Regions from separate parts of the Homo sapiens genome. Here region 1 is linked to region 2. The links are contacts of gene promoters, found by promoter capture Hi-C in human tissues and cell types (Jung and others, 2019). All regions are on one chromosome and are shown on one strand. The core of a region is centred on a gene start or on the middle of the fragment in contact, and the rest is flanking DNA. Distances in the headings are between cores, read along the strand shown. Region 1 holds the start of LHX5 (LIM homeobox 5). Region 2 holds the start of SDSL (serine dehydratase like).

Region 1 (6,305 bases), core at 202-2,701, 49 kb after region 2:
CCTCCGGGTCCAGGGAGTTAACACGTGTAAAGGAGCGGCTGACATTTTCTCCCATTCAAATTCTCAGTGCGGAGTCGCTGGGGCCGGCAGGCTGCCTTTCTCTGTGGCGTGATTCACGCCCCCATTCCTCAGCGCGGGGAATTCCTGTTCACAAAGCCGGCTCTGGGTGCCCAGAGGAAACAGGTAGGGCTCAGCTGCCCCAAACTCCAGTGGCTTCCAGGCTGGGGAAACTGAGGCCCAGAGAGGTGATCTGCCCTGGCCAGCCACAGGGCCCACAGGGGTAGGGGGGCTGGGGAGGTGCCACAGCCCAGTCTAGACCCCAGAGGTCCTGATTCTCAGCCTCGATTTCGTTTCTACTTTTCAACATGGGAGGAAATGTTTAAGGGGTTGGGAGGTGGGTGGGGGAGGTTCTCTCCTCCCATCACCAGGGGAGACCTTCCTCGCTGGGCCCCCTCTGGAGCTGAGAAGTTTCTGTTTGGGATTGCGGCCGATGGGCTCACACATTCTGCCTGGAGCGAGAAGCCTTCAGGCGTCTCTAACTCATGCAAAAATCCTTCCTCTCTCTCGGGACGGGGCTTGAAGCTTCTGTCTTGGGGTTGCAGCTGCTTGGAAGGGGCGGAGAGGAGTGGATAGCAAGTTTGTCAGGGCTTCCTCCCTCTGCCCCGCCAGCGCTCTGAGCCGGCCTCGAGCCAACGTGAGGCAGCGAAGCAGCGTCCTTCTTCCTCCGCCTGGGCTCGGGACCTTTCCTGGACCAAGGACAGGAGGAGAGCAAAGTGCTGCCCGCTCCCCATCTAAGCTTGTGATCCGGGGAGGCTGGGATGGGGATGGGGGTATCCCCTTCCCCAGCGCCCCAGTGGAGCGCGCGCAGGGTGGGCGCGCAGGCAGCAGAGCGGCGCGGCCTCTTACCTGAAAAAGTCATTTTTGCAGTAGAGCTTGCCCTCGCGCGAGAAGCACTTCTCCGAGAGGTTGGTTTTGCACTCGCAGCACTGAACACATTTGATGTGCCACGCGCGGTCCAGCACGTTCAGCAGAAAGCGGTCGAGGATGGGCCGCTCGCAACCGGCGCAGTGCACCATCATAGCCCCGCGCCCCGGCGGCTTCGGCCGCCTTGCCCTCCCTTTGGGCCCCTGGCCCTCGGGCCTGCCGGGCCCTCCGCTGCCCTTCGCCTCTTGTCTCAGCAGCTGCAGGGCGAGTCTGGTCCGGACCAAGACTCAGCCGGTCCAGTCCTTGGGCAATCTCTGGCCTGGCGCTGGGCTGCCCGGAGTGGGGTGGTGGGGGGCGGGTGGCGTTCACAACCTCATGCCACGGGCCGCACGCCCCGGCGCCTGTTCCGGGCTTCCCCAGGTATCTCGGGTGGCTGCTGGCCTCGGCGCTGCGGAGCGGCTTTCCCCGGTGGCGGAGGCGCCGGCACTTTCCCCCACTTTCAAGCGGTCCGGATCCTCATCTTTGTCTGGTCGCCGCGTAATTCGCGCATCCTTATTCAGATTTGGTGACGTGGCGCTGCACGTAGGGGGCCCAGCGGCCAATGGGCGCACCGTGGCCATGGCAACCTCTTAAATTTATAGCATATCTAAATTGGCTACAGCGTTGCTGTCCGGACAGAGCAAAAAAAACAAGGCATCAGTATTGTTGAGTATTAGCTTGTACCTGGTTCGGAGGCTAAGTAAGTATTTACCTTCCAGTTTGGGGCTGACGGGGCGGGGGCAGCGCGAAACGAAAATTGCGTCTCTCTTCCTCTCTCTTTCTCCTCACAAATATTTGGGGGTCACGGGTTCCAAGGCCTAGTCCGGGAGGTACCCCTGCCCCCTTCGCCATCCCTGGAACTTGCAGAAGTTGCCCCACGCCCCACACTTCGCTCCCCTTCTCCAGCCCAGCCAGCCCAGATTGGATTCCCCCACCCCCGCGCCCCCTCTGCGCCCTGAAGCTGCGTCAGCGCGGTTCTCCCGGCTCCTGGAGCCGGCCCCGGCTTCTTTTTGTCATACACGGGGCTGGGGCCCAGCCGGGCCTTTCTCATGGAGAGAGCTAGTGGAGACCGCGCGGCCTGGGTAGTTTTCCCCGCCCGGCCGCCGAGCCCAGGCCCAGGCCCAGGGTGGGGAGGCGGGGGAGCAGGAGGGGTGCCATTTGGCCTGGTCCCGAACTCCAGAGTTTCAGGCCTGAGTGCGCTGCTCACGGGGCTCTGAGGGAGATGTGGACAGGGGGAGATTCAGGGTGGACGGGTCTTCCCGCAGACAGCTCGGAGGTGGCACTCACCACGTCTCTCCTTTCCTCGCTGCACCTTCCAGATTCCAGGTCAGCCTATGGGGCACTGTGGTGAGTGGGTCGTACGGCTGAGGCGGGGGACACCAGCGACTATGAGAGCGCTGTTTGTATTCACGCCGTGCGGGCTGGGTGTGCAAGTTCGTCCCCTCATTGGGCGCAGGAGAAGCGGCGCACGTATGTTCCGTGCTCGGCAGGGCGCCCAGAGTGTGAGGAGAGAGAGTGTGTGTGTGTTAAGGGGGAGGGGGGATGTTGGCAGGTGTGCGTGAGGAGGGGGTGTGTGGGTCTGAGTAGGAGAAGGGACCAGGCCTCCTTTCCCCTGGGGCCAGCGTGGCCACCAGGGATCCTAGTTGGGGAAGCCGGGAATGGGCAACCAGGATTTGCCTTTCGCTTCTGGAAAGGGGGCTGAGGGAGTAGGGCCTGGGACCAAGGGCTGGAGCTGGAGGGGTTTGTGCCAGCACTTGGCTGTGAATGTTTGTTTGGGTGTGTTTCCTGAGCTTGTTAGTGTATACTCGCTGTTTGAGAATTCCATTTTTGCATCTGTTTATTGTGTTAGTACCATCAATCCTGTGAGTAAATTTCTGCGTGTGCGTTTTCGTGTGTGCAGATTCGTGTGTTTGTAATTGTGTATGGTCCTGCTAATGTTTGTGTTTATCACTGTGTGCACTTTTATTTTTGTTGGTCTGTGCCTATGTGTGTTTGCTTATTTGAGGATGCATAAATGTGAGGGTGTTTTCATGTGTACGTGTGCATTCACGTAAGAGTGTTTGTGTCTGTGTTTGCAAGCATTGATGTGAAGGTGTACTTTGAAAAATCTGAATGTGTGTGTTTGTGTGTAGGTGAGGGCGTGCATGCTTGAGACCCTGTGTGTATGAGACTGAGCTGGCTTGGTTGTGTTTGTGAGTGCAGAATTCTGAAGAGCTATGTTTGTGTGCCAGTCGCTGTGTGTGTGTGCCTGCAAATGTGTGTATTTGTGCAAACAGTAGTTTTTTGTTTATGCAACTCCTGTAGGCTTTTGTGTGTGTGTGTGTATGTGTGTGTGAGGGGGTTATGTTTGTATTTGTGTTTGTGTGTGTACTCCTAGCTGCGCTTACCTTTGTGGATTCGGAGGTTGAGGGAGCAGGATTTGTGGATGCCTGTGTTGGGGCTCAGGGATGCCCACTTGTCCCCCTTCCTCTCAGGCCTAGCACTGTCCCCCACAGTATCTAGGGGAGGTGATCTTGCTAGGGACAGGGAATTGGTGAGTGCTGGTTACAGAGTGGAGCATTGACTCACCAGCCAGCCCGCTGGAAAAGGAATCCCTAACCCGGGCAGCTTCTGCTTATTGGTGCTGTTACCTGACCCTCTAGCTTGTCAGGGGACAGGCATCTACAGAGCATAGTAGTAACGCTGGTTAGAGCCCAGCTCAACCAGGAACAGGCAGGATGAATCTCACTTGGCCTCCTAGGCTCGGCCATGAGAGACTTCAAATGGAACTGCAGTTTCTGGCAGCACTTGGCCCTGCCCGCCTGGGCTTAAAGGATCCTTGAGCTCTGGCAGGGGCAGAGCTGGAAAGAAATAAGAACCCGAAGAGGAGAGAGGTGCTCAGGCTCCCGGCAGAGGTGAACTGTACTGCCTTCTCCGTCTTTGTCTCACTAGGCTTTTTCTGTCTCTCCCGAGTTCTCACCATATCTCTTTTCCTTTCTGTCTCCGTTTTTCTCTTATGCTCAGAATCTGTTCTCTTTCTGTTTCATTTTCTCTTGGTTCTCCCTTGTTTTCTTTCTCCATTTCTCTCTCTCTCTTTTTTTTTGTTCTCCTCCCCTGGCCTCTCTGCTGGAGCTTCCAAATCCAGCATCCGACTCAAAGCTGAGATGAATGCTCCTTATTTTGCATCGTGCAGATTTTGGGGTGTGGGGGGAAGACTTGCACCCCCACCACGTGCTTCATGATCATTCAGAACCTCCATCCAACCACTTTCTTCTCTGCTCCAGACTAGGCACACTGAGCCCATTCTCCCCCAAACCCCACAAAATATGCAAAGTGCCCTGTCTGGTGTGTGTTTCCAGCCCAGGCTTTGCCCACCCATTGGTGGTGGCTGGGGGCCTGTGTACCCAGCTCTATCTGAATCTCAGATCCACTAGTCCTCATCTCCCAGAGAGCTTCAATGCATAGCCAGGCTCTAACAACCGTGTGGCCAGGCCAGGGAGGTCGTAGGAAGAGGGAAGAAGATGAGAGCAGCCCTGAGTAGGGATGAGCGTCAGTCACCTGGGGCTGGATGTTTGGTTGCAGGAGATGAGGACTCTGTTTCCAGAAGCCCTGGTCTGATCTTCCATCTCTTGTAGGGGAACTCACCAATCCTGCCCTTGTTGCAGTCCCCTAGAGTTGCGTTGGGGGCCTCATCCTCAGTACAGCTCAGCCCCAGTTCGAGAACTCCCTGGACCTGGGCTCAGCCAAGCTGCCCAGAACCCGCCCGGCCTTCTCTAGCCCACCACCTTCCCCGGTGCACAGCATCGGAAAATGCCAGCAGACCAGCTATTAGACTCATCCCGACCTAACAGCGCTAACAGATGGCGACCAGGCAGCGAAATCCCCTCCTATATGTAACTAATAAACCGCTTGTGTCTTAACAGGGTAATGCATGGAGACGCAATGTCACTTATACAAGATGTTGATGGAATTTACTATATAAAAATCTTCCTCCTAGAGTAAAGAGTATCAACATTACAACTCGACAGACGGCGGCGGGATAAGTAAAACAGACAAAAGACAAACAAGATAATAATCTGTTTCCAATCACTTAAGCCCTGTAGAGTTAGTAATATGCGGTTTGCATATTCCCCCTTGAGTTCGGTAATTAATTACTGGCGAGGAGGCGCACACTAGCCTGGGGTGGGAGTTTTGGGGAGCGCTGAGCTGGGGCGTGGGGCATACCTCTCTTGAGTTCTCCAGCCCGGGACACCGGGCAGCGGCCGGAATGAGGGCGCTTCCAGAGGTTTGGAGCTGACCCACCCGCGGGTTGAAGAGGTCGTTTCAGTTGCACCTCCCTATTCCTCACCGGAAAGCCTCCGGCCTGGGAGATTCTGCAGCCAAGCAGGAAAGGGGGTCTTCTCTGGCAGCCAGTGTCTCTCCTGGCTCCTCTTAAAGCATCCTCTCCTTCGAACGGCCGGGAGTGGCAGCTTTATTGGGAAACGCGCGCTCTGGGGGCCCAGGTGGCTGGGGGGACCGGAGAGGCGCGCGCTTTGCCCACTTCTCTTGGTGGCATCTTGTGCGACCCAGCCCGTCCTCTCCCGACTTCGATCATTACCGCTCCCACCCCAACACGCATACTTCCCCCACCCCACCCCCAAGAGCCAGCGCGGCTTTAACATTAAACAAACGCAGCGAGCGCCTCCGAGCTGCGCTCTCGGCCGGGTCTGCGCGGCGGCGGCGGCGTTACAAATTGTAAATTTAAATTGCTCGCCGGATTCATTACCTCCCCTCTTTGATTTCAGCCAGCCGTGAAAAATTATACTGGTGTACCACTGAGAAACTGTTTTGCCGCAAAGAGCCTACGCCTAATCACTGGCTTTCTCCCTCCGACAAAAGTGTAATTATTTTGTTTGGGGTGTAAATATAGGCCGCGCCTCGCACACACACTCAGCGTCCCGCAGCGCCGCAGAGCACCGCCCGCCGCCGGAAGGAATCGGGCCCCCGAGTAGGAGCGGGCGTGAAGGCTGAGCCCCGCTGTCTGGAGGCCGGAGGAGAGCGGCTGGTGTGGCGCTCCGGCGAGACCCAGCGAGCCCAGCCTCTGCCCTCCGCAGTTCGGGTTTGCCCGAGAACCTCGGGACCGCGCGCTCCCAGGCGGGCCAGAGAGGACGCCGGCGGGGTGCAATGGGTGCTCAGGCCTAGACATCCGGGCAGGGATGCGAGAGGGATGGCGGGGGTGGGAGTGGGGTGGGTGGGGGGTGGTGGTGAATTTTCTGGGGAACCCTTGGGGGTGGCCGTCTGAGAGCGGCCCGGAGCCCAGGCGGGGAGAGTGTCCTGGCCTGGGTGGAACCCTGGGAGGCGGGGGCGTCGTGGCTGGTGTGCCC
Region 2 (6,276 bases), core at 2,057-4,556:
CCCTGTCTCTACTAAAAATACAAAAATCAGCCAGGCGTGGTGGTGCAAGCCTGTAATCCCAGCTACTTAGGAGGCTGAGGCAGGAGAATCCCTTGAACCCGTGAGGCAGAGTTTGCAGTGAGCCAAGATCGCGCCATTGCACTCCAGCCTGGGCGACAGAGTGAATGGTGAGACTCTGTCTCAAAAAACAAAACAAAATAAAGCAAAAGCAACAGCAGCGAACACAGAGCACTAACTACTGTCCTAATATTTTCCTGCATTAATGCATTTGATCCTCACATCCACTGTACTAGGGAAGTAGTGTTTTATCCCCATCTTACATTTGAGGGAACAAGGCACAGAGAGGTTAAGTGACTTACAAAAGGTCACAGGGTCACACAGTGAGAAAGTGGCAGAACAAGTATTTGTATCAGAGCCTGGCTGCAGGTCTGTGTTTTAACTACTAGGCATGCTGCTTGTTCATGCCAGAAACTACTACTACTATTATTGCTACTAATAATTTATATACAAATATATATATTATATACAAATATATATATATTTATATACAAATATATATAATATACAAATATATATTTATATACATATACATATTTATATACAAATATATATATTTATATACATATATATTTGTATACAAACATGTATATTTGTATACAAATATATATATTATATACAAGTATATATATTTATATAAATATATATTATATACAAATATATATATTTATAAACATATATATACACACACACATATATATATTTATATATGTTTTTTAAGACGGAATTTCGCTCTTGTTGCCCAGGCTGGAGTGCAATAGCACGACCTCGGCTCACTGCAAACTCCACTTCCCCGGTTCAAGTGATTCTCCTGTCTCAGCCTCCCGAGTAGCTGAGATTACAGGCGCCCACCACCATGTCCAGCTAGCTTTTTGTATTTTTAGTAGTGATGGGGTTTCACTACATTGGCCACGCTCAAACTCCTGACCTCAGGTGATCCAGCTGCCTCGGCATCCCAAAGTGCTGGGATTACAGGCATGAGCCACCATGCCTGGCCAATTAATATATTTTTTAAAGAGGCTCCATTTTTAAACTTTAATACCTACCTTAGCTTCTTCCTAAGCCATCATATCCATGAAACTATGGGTCTGATATTTTATATGTACATACACATACATATGTATACACATATATATATACCTACATACATACACACATCTTTCCTAATGCACACAGAAATAGATTGCCAACTATTAAAAAACCTTTGGGGGCTGGGCGCAGTGGCTGTTGCCTGTAATCCGAGCATTTTGGGAGGCTAAGGTAGGAGGATTGCTTGAGGTCAGGAGTTCAAGATCAGCCTGGGCAGCACAGTGAGACCTCGTTTGTAAAACAAACAAACAAACAAACAAACAAACAAATAAACAGTGTGGGTTACGCTGGACAGCATGCACGTGTTGGTGTACAGTAGACATGCACTAAATGCAGCTAGTCTGCTTCTTGTCAAAGTCTGAGCTGTGTGCTGAGTCTCTGCCTACTTCAAGAAGCCCTCCCTGATCTTGCCCCATCCCCAGCTACCCTATGGGGACTTTCTGCCCTCTGTCATCTTAGGAAGTGTTATTGTTGCTACCGAATTGGGTGTCTTCCTCTCCCCTCCATGCTGGGGGCCACTTCAAGGCACAAACTGGATTTTATCACCTCTGTGTCCCCAGTACCCAGTCCAGGACAAGGCACCCAACAAGGATGGATGTGTGTCTAAAGCGAGGATGGGTAGAAACTTGCCAGAGTCCACATTAAGGATCACGGCCAAGCAGCTCCATCTAACCCCAAGTGGCTGGGAGTTAATCATCAAACCTGGGGAGATCAGAAACAGCCCAAGAAGGACACACAACATCTGTGATGCCAGGTCTTCCTGTTCCCACTTTCCACATAGGGAAACTGAGGCCCAGAGATGGGCACGAGCTGCTCAGGTTCACCCAGTGAGATGGTGCAGAGACAAGACATGAATTTGACCATGTCATTCCCCCCACCTAAAGCCTTCTGTGGCTCCCTAGTGCCCCTGGGTAAGGTCCAAACTCTGGATTGGTACAGGCATCCCTGTGGACTCTGATCTCTGCCCACATCTCCAGCCTCAACCCCACTTGCTTCCCCACCCCTGCCTTCTCCCTCCCAGCCCCACTGGATACTACCCTGACCCTGGAATATATCATGTTTTTCATTTCCAGACCTTTGCACTCCCTGTGCCTGACTCCTGGCTCCACTCAGACTTCCCCTCCTCCAGGAAGCCTCCCCAGCCCCCCAGGGCCAGGCGGGGTGCCTGCTCTGGGTTCCACAGCCCTGCCCCACCCTGCCAGCTGCTAACATCTGATAGCACTAATAAGTGCTCTCTAATGGCCCTCTCTAAGGGCTTTGTGAAGGCAGAGGACATGCTATTTTGTTTGAGGCCAAAGTTCCAGGGATTGGCACATAGTAGGTGTCCAATAAACATTTAATGAATGAATGAATGGTCAGTCATTCATCTGAGTAGCAAATAATTGCTTGGGTTCTCATGCTGCGTGTAAAATATCCGAGACGGAGAGGTGCTTCAGACAAAAATATACCTTTCCCATGTCACAAATAATAATTATAATAATTGTTTCCTTGGCCAGGTGCAGTGGCTCACGCCTGTAATCCCAGCACTTTGGGAGGCAGAGGCAAGCAGATCACCTGAGGACAGGAGTTCGAGACTGGCCTGGCCAACATGGTCAAACCCTGTCCCTACTAAAAATACAAAAATTAGCTGGCGTGGTGGTGGGTGCCTGTAAACCTGGCTACTTGGGAGGCTGAAGTGGGAGAATCGCTTGAATCCAGGAGGCGGAGGTAACAGTGAGCCGAGATCGCACCATTGCACTCCAGCCTGGGGGACAAGAATGAAACTGTGTCTCAAAAAAAAAAAGTTCCCTTGTCCTTGTTTTCCCATCCCAGACCTAAGCTGACCCCAACAGTGGTTCAGCATCCGGGACAATCACTAGACCTAAAATGAGAAGACATGGAGATGCCTGCATCCCGGAAGAGATGGCCCAGGGCCAGGGGTAAAGGCTGTCTCTGCCCCTTGCTGTCTGGGAAGCTTTGGCCAAATAAGTTCCCTTTTCTGAGTTTCAGTTTGCTCATCTGTCAAATGAGACAGGGTGGTGCATGAGTCATAGGCAGTGCCCGGGAAAGCGGTGAGGGTTGCTCTCATCCCCTCTCCTCCTCCGTCTTCACCCGGAGGCTTAGGGTCTGGAGCTTTCTCTTTAACAAAGGAGGAGGGACCAAGGTTGCCGGAAGCTGCCTGAAGCTGGACAGAGCCGGTTCCTGGAAAGAGCTGGTTCCCTGGCAGGCTGGAGGGCAGGAGCTGGGGCCACGCTGGTCTGGGATAGTTGGGCAGGGAGGTAAGGGGTCTGGGGCCAGCTGGGGCCCCTGGGGCTCAGTGTGTGTGTGAATGAGAGGCTGATGAGAGGCTGCAGGAGTTTGGGAGGCTTTGGGCAAAGTCCAAGCTGAGCAGGTGGGAGTGAGAGGGCCTGAGCGTGTTCTAGGCCCTCCTGGGAATGTCGATTGAATTCAGGGTGCCCTGCAGAAGAAAGTGTTGTGCTGGGGACCCTGAAGGGCGAGAGTGGGTTCTGCCTGCCAGAGGGGCAGGGTTGGGCATTCTGCCAGCCAAGGGGCCAGCCCGAGGTGTCCCAGCCCTGGCACCAGGGATTTGGCTGTGGAGTGCCACCAAGGTGGCCTCTGGGGAAAGGCTTTGGGGACAAGTGAGGTGGACAGCACTGGTGGTCCTTACCTCAACTCATAGATGTGACAGGTAAGGCCCAGTGACAAAAGTGACTTGGCCAAGGTTGGCATGACTGGGACCTGAGCCTGAGCCCCCTGCTTTCCCCTGGGTTATTCCACAGCAGGGAGACCCAGGTCCCCCATTTCAGCCCTGGTGGCTGCCATACGGGACAAGAGGTGTGTGTCCCTGGGCCAAGACAGCTCAGTCCCAGACCTCAGGTGCCTGATGGGGTCTGGGGTTGATAAGGCTGTTGGCAACTTGGGGCTTTTTCATTTAACTGATGCCTGCTGTCCTCTTGTGAGTCAGTATAACCAAGAGGGCTGGGGAAGCCTGGAAACTGAGCCAGGAGCATTTGGTTCCAAAGGACAATTGGCAATAAATATTAAATGCATGCAGCTTTCATAATAGTAACGATAACACTAGTATATTAGAGAAAGTATAGCATCGCGGTTAATAGCACAGATGCCAAAGACACTGCCTGGTGTGAATTCTGGCTATGCTGTTTCTAACTGTGTGAACTTGGATAAGTTACTTAATCTCTCTGGACCTCAGGTTCACTGTTTATAAAATGGAGTCAATGGTGAGTTAATGACTCATCTGTTGTGAGCCAACAGGTGGCTCACACCTGTTATCCTAGTGTTTTGAGAGGCAGAGACAAGAGATTTACCTGAGGCCAGGAGTTCAAGACCAGCCTGGACAACTCAGCAAAACTGCATCTCTATAAAAATTAAAATATCAGCCGGATACAGTGGTGCATGTCTACAGTTCCAGCTACTCAGGAAGCTGAGGTGGGAGGATTGCTTGAGCCCGGGACTTCAAGGTTACAGTGAGCCATGATCGTGCCACTGCACTCCAGCCCAGGCAACAGAGTGAGACCTTGTCTCTAAAACAAACACCAAAAAAACAAGAAAGCGGAAGGATTATGGAGTAGGGGGAGTTCATCCTGACAATCCCAGGATCCCCAGGGGAAAAATCTGGGGATTTCACCAAAAAGGAAGAGAGACCCAATTCCAAGTGGACAGACACCCAACATGGGTGCCCTTACCATGCAGGCTCATTGAATCCTCACAATAGTCCTGCCATGTACACGCTCTTCTTGCAGTTTGTTGTGTGGTTGGTTGGTTCTCATTTTTCGGGTCTAATTTTTAATTTTTTATTATTTTTTTTGAGACAGAGTTTCCCTCTTACTCTCTAGGCTGGAGTGCAATGGCGCGATCTCGGCTCACTGCAACCTCGCCTCACCGCAACCTCGCCTCTCAGGTTCAAGCAATTCTCCTGCCTCAGCCTCCCGAGTAGCTGGGATTACAGGCATGCGCCACCATGCCCGGCTAATTTTGTATTTTTAGTAGAGACGGGGTTTCTCCATGTTGGCCAGACTGGTCTTGAACTCTTGACCTCAGGTGATCCGCCTGCCTCTGCCTCACAAAGTGCTGGGATTACAGGCATGAGCCACCGCGCCCTGTCTCAGTTCTTAGTTTTAATGGTCACTTCCTCTAAGAGGTCTTTCCTGACCTCCATACCCAAAGTAGGTCCCCTTGTTCTTCTCTTTAGGACTCCCTATATGCGTGTTTCCCTCTTAGAAGTTTTCAACATTTCTGATTATTTTGTTTGTCTATGCAGTTATTTGTTAAGTGCCCATCTCATCAGGCTATAATTCAGCTCCAAGGTTGATGTCTATCTTGTCCACAGTGGTATCCCCTGTTGCTAGGTCAGGGCCTGCATCTTGTAGGTGCCCTGTAAACATGCTAAAGTAAGGGTAAGCAGGTCACCATGCTCAAAGCATGACACAAGGTATCAGTGAGATAACGTCTCCAGAGGACTCAGCTGATGACTGGCACATAATAGGGACTCAACAAATGACAGATGTTATTCTCTCTCTCTCTCTTTTTTTTTTTTTAAAGACAGTCTCACTCTGTTGCCCAGGCTGGAGAACAGTGGTGAGATCTTGGCTCACTGCAATCTCCACCTCCCAGGTTCAAGCAATTCTCCCACCTCAGCCTCCCAAGTAGCTGGGACTACAGGTGTGCACCACCACACCCGGCTAATTTTTGTATTTTTAGTAGAGACGGGGTTTCACCATGTTGGCCACGCTGGTCTTGAACTCCTGACCTCAAGGGATCCACCCGCCTCAGCCTCCCAAAGTGCTGGGATTATAGGCATGAGCCACTGCACCTGGCCAATGTTATTCTTATTAACTTACACCACAACCTGTGAGTTGGGGACTGTTTTTATCCCCATTTTAGAGAAGGGGAAACAGGCACAGAGAGGTTGTGACACTTGTTTGGGTCACACAGCCAGGAAGTCGGAGCTGGTTTCTAACTTTTGCTTCTGGTCGACCCCAAAGCCTGTGCTCTTGGGGTCCAGGGTTGAGCTGAGGCCTAGGCTGGGGTATGCGGCATTTGGGGATCAGTGATGACCCATGGGCTTCTTTCCCCTGATGCCCGAAGCTGAGAGGTGCCCTGGGTGGGACTGGGAAGAGGTGGCTCAGGCTG

Evidence for each region. Contacts are between HindIII fragments. The study calls those that stand out against the background at their distance.
Region 1: a contact is called between the fragment with the promoter of LHX5 here and the fragment with the promoter of SDSL in region 2, in 1 of the 25 tissues and cell types used here (adrenal gland).

Annotation. Positions count from the first base shown.
Region 1 is chr12:113,470,420-113,476,724 of GRCh38, forward strand. LHX5 (LIM homeobox 5) reads right to left here and starts at 1,452. Exons shown (of 5, transcript NM_022363.3): 1 at 907-1,452. The coding sequence starts at 1,079. It overlaps LHX5-AS1 (LHX5 antisense RNA 1), which reads left to right and starts at 1,584. Exons shown (of 2, transcript NR_126425.1): 1 at 1,584-1,663. RefSeq lists an enhancer at 534-1,334. The HindIII fragment of the contact is 9,096 bases long and covers 1-6,305 here.
Region 2 is chr12:113,419,074-113,425,349 of GRCh38, forward strand. It overlaps SDSL (serine dehydratase like), which reads left to right and starts at 3,307. Exons shown (of 8, transcript NM_001304993.2): 1 at 3,307-3,404. The HindIII fragment of the contact is 24,154 bases long and covers 1,276-6,276 here.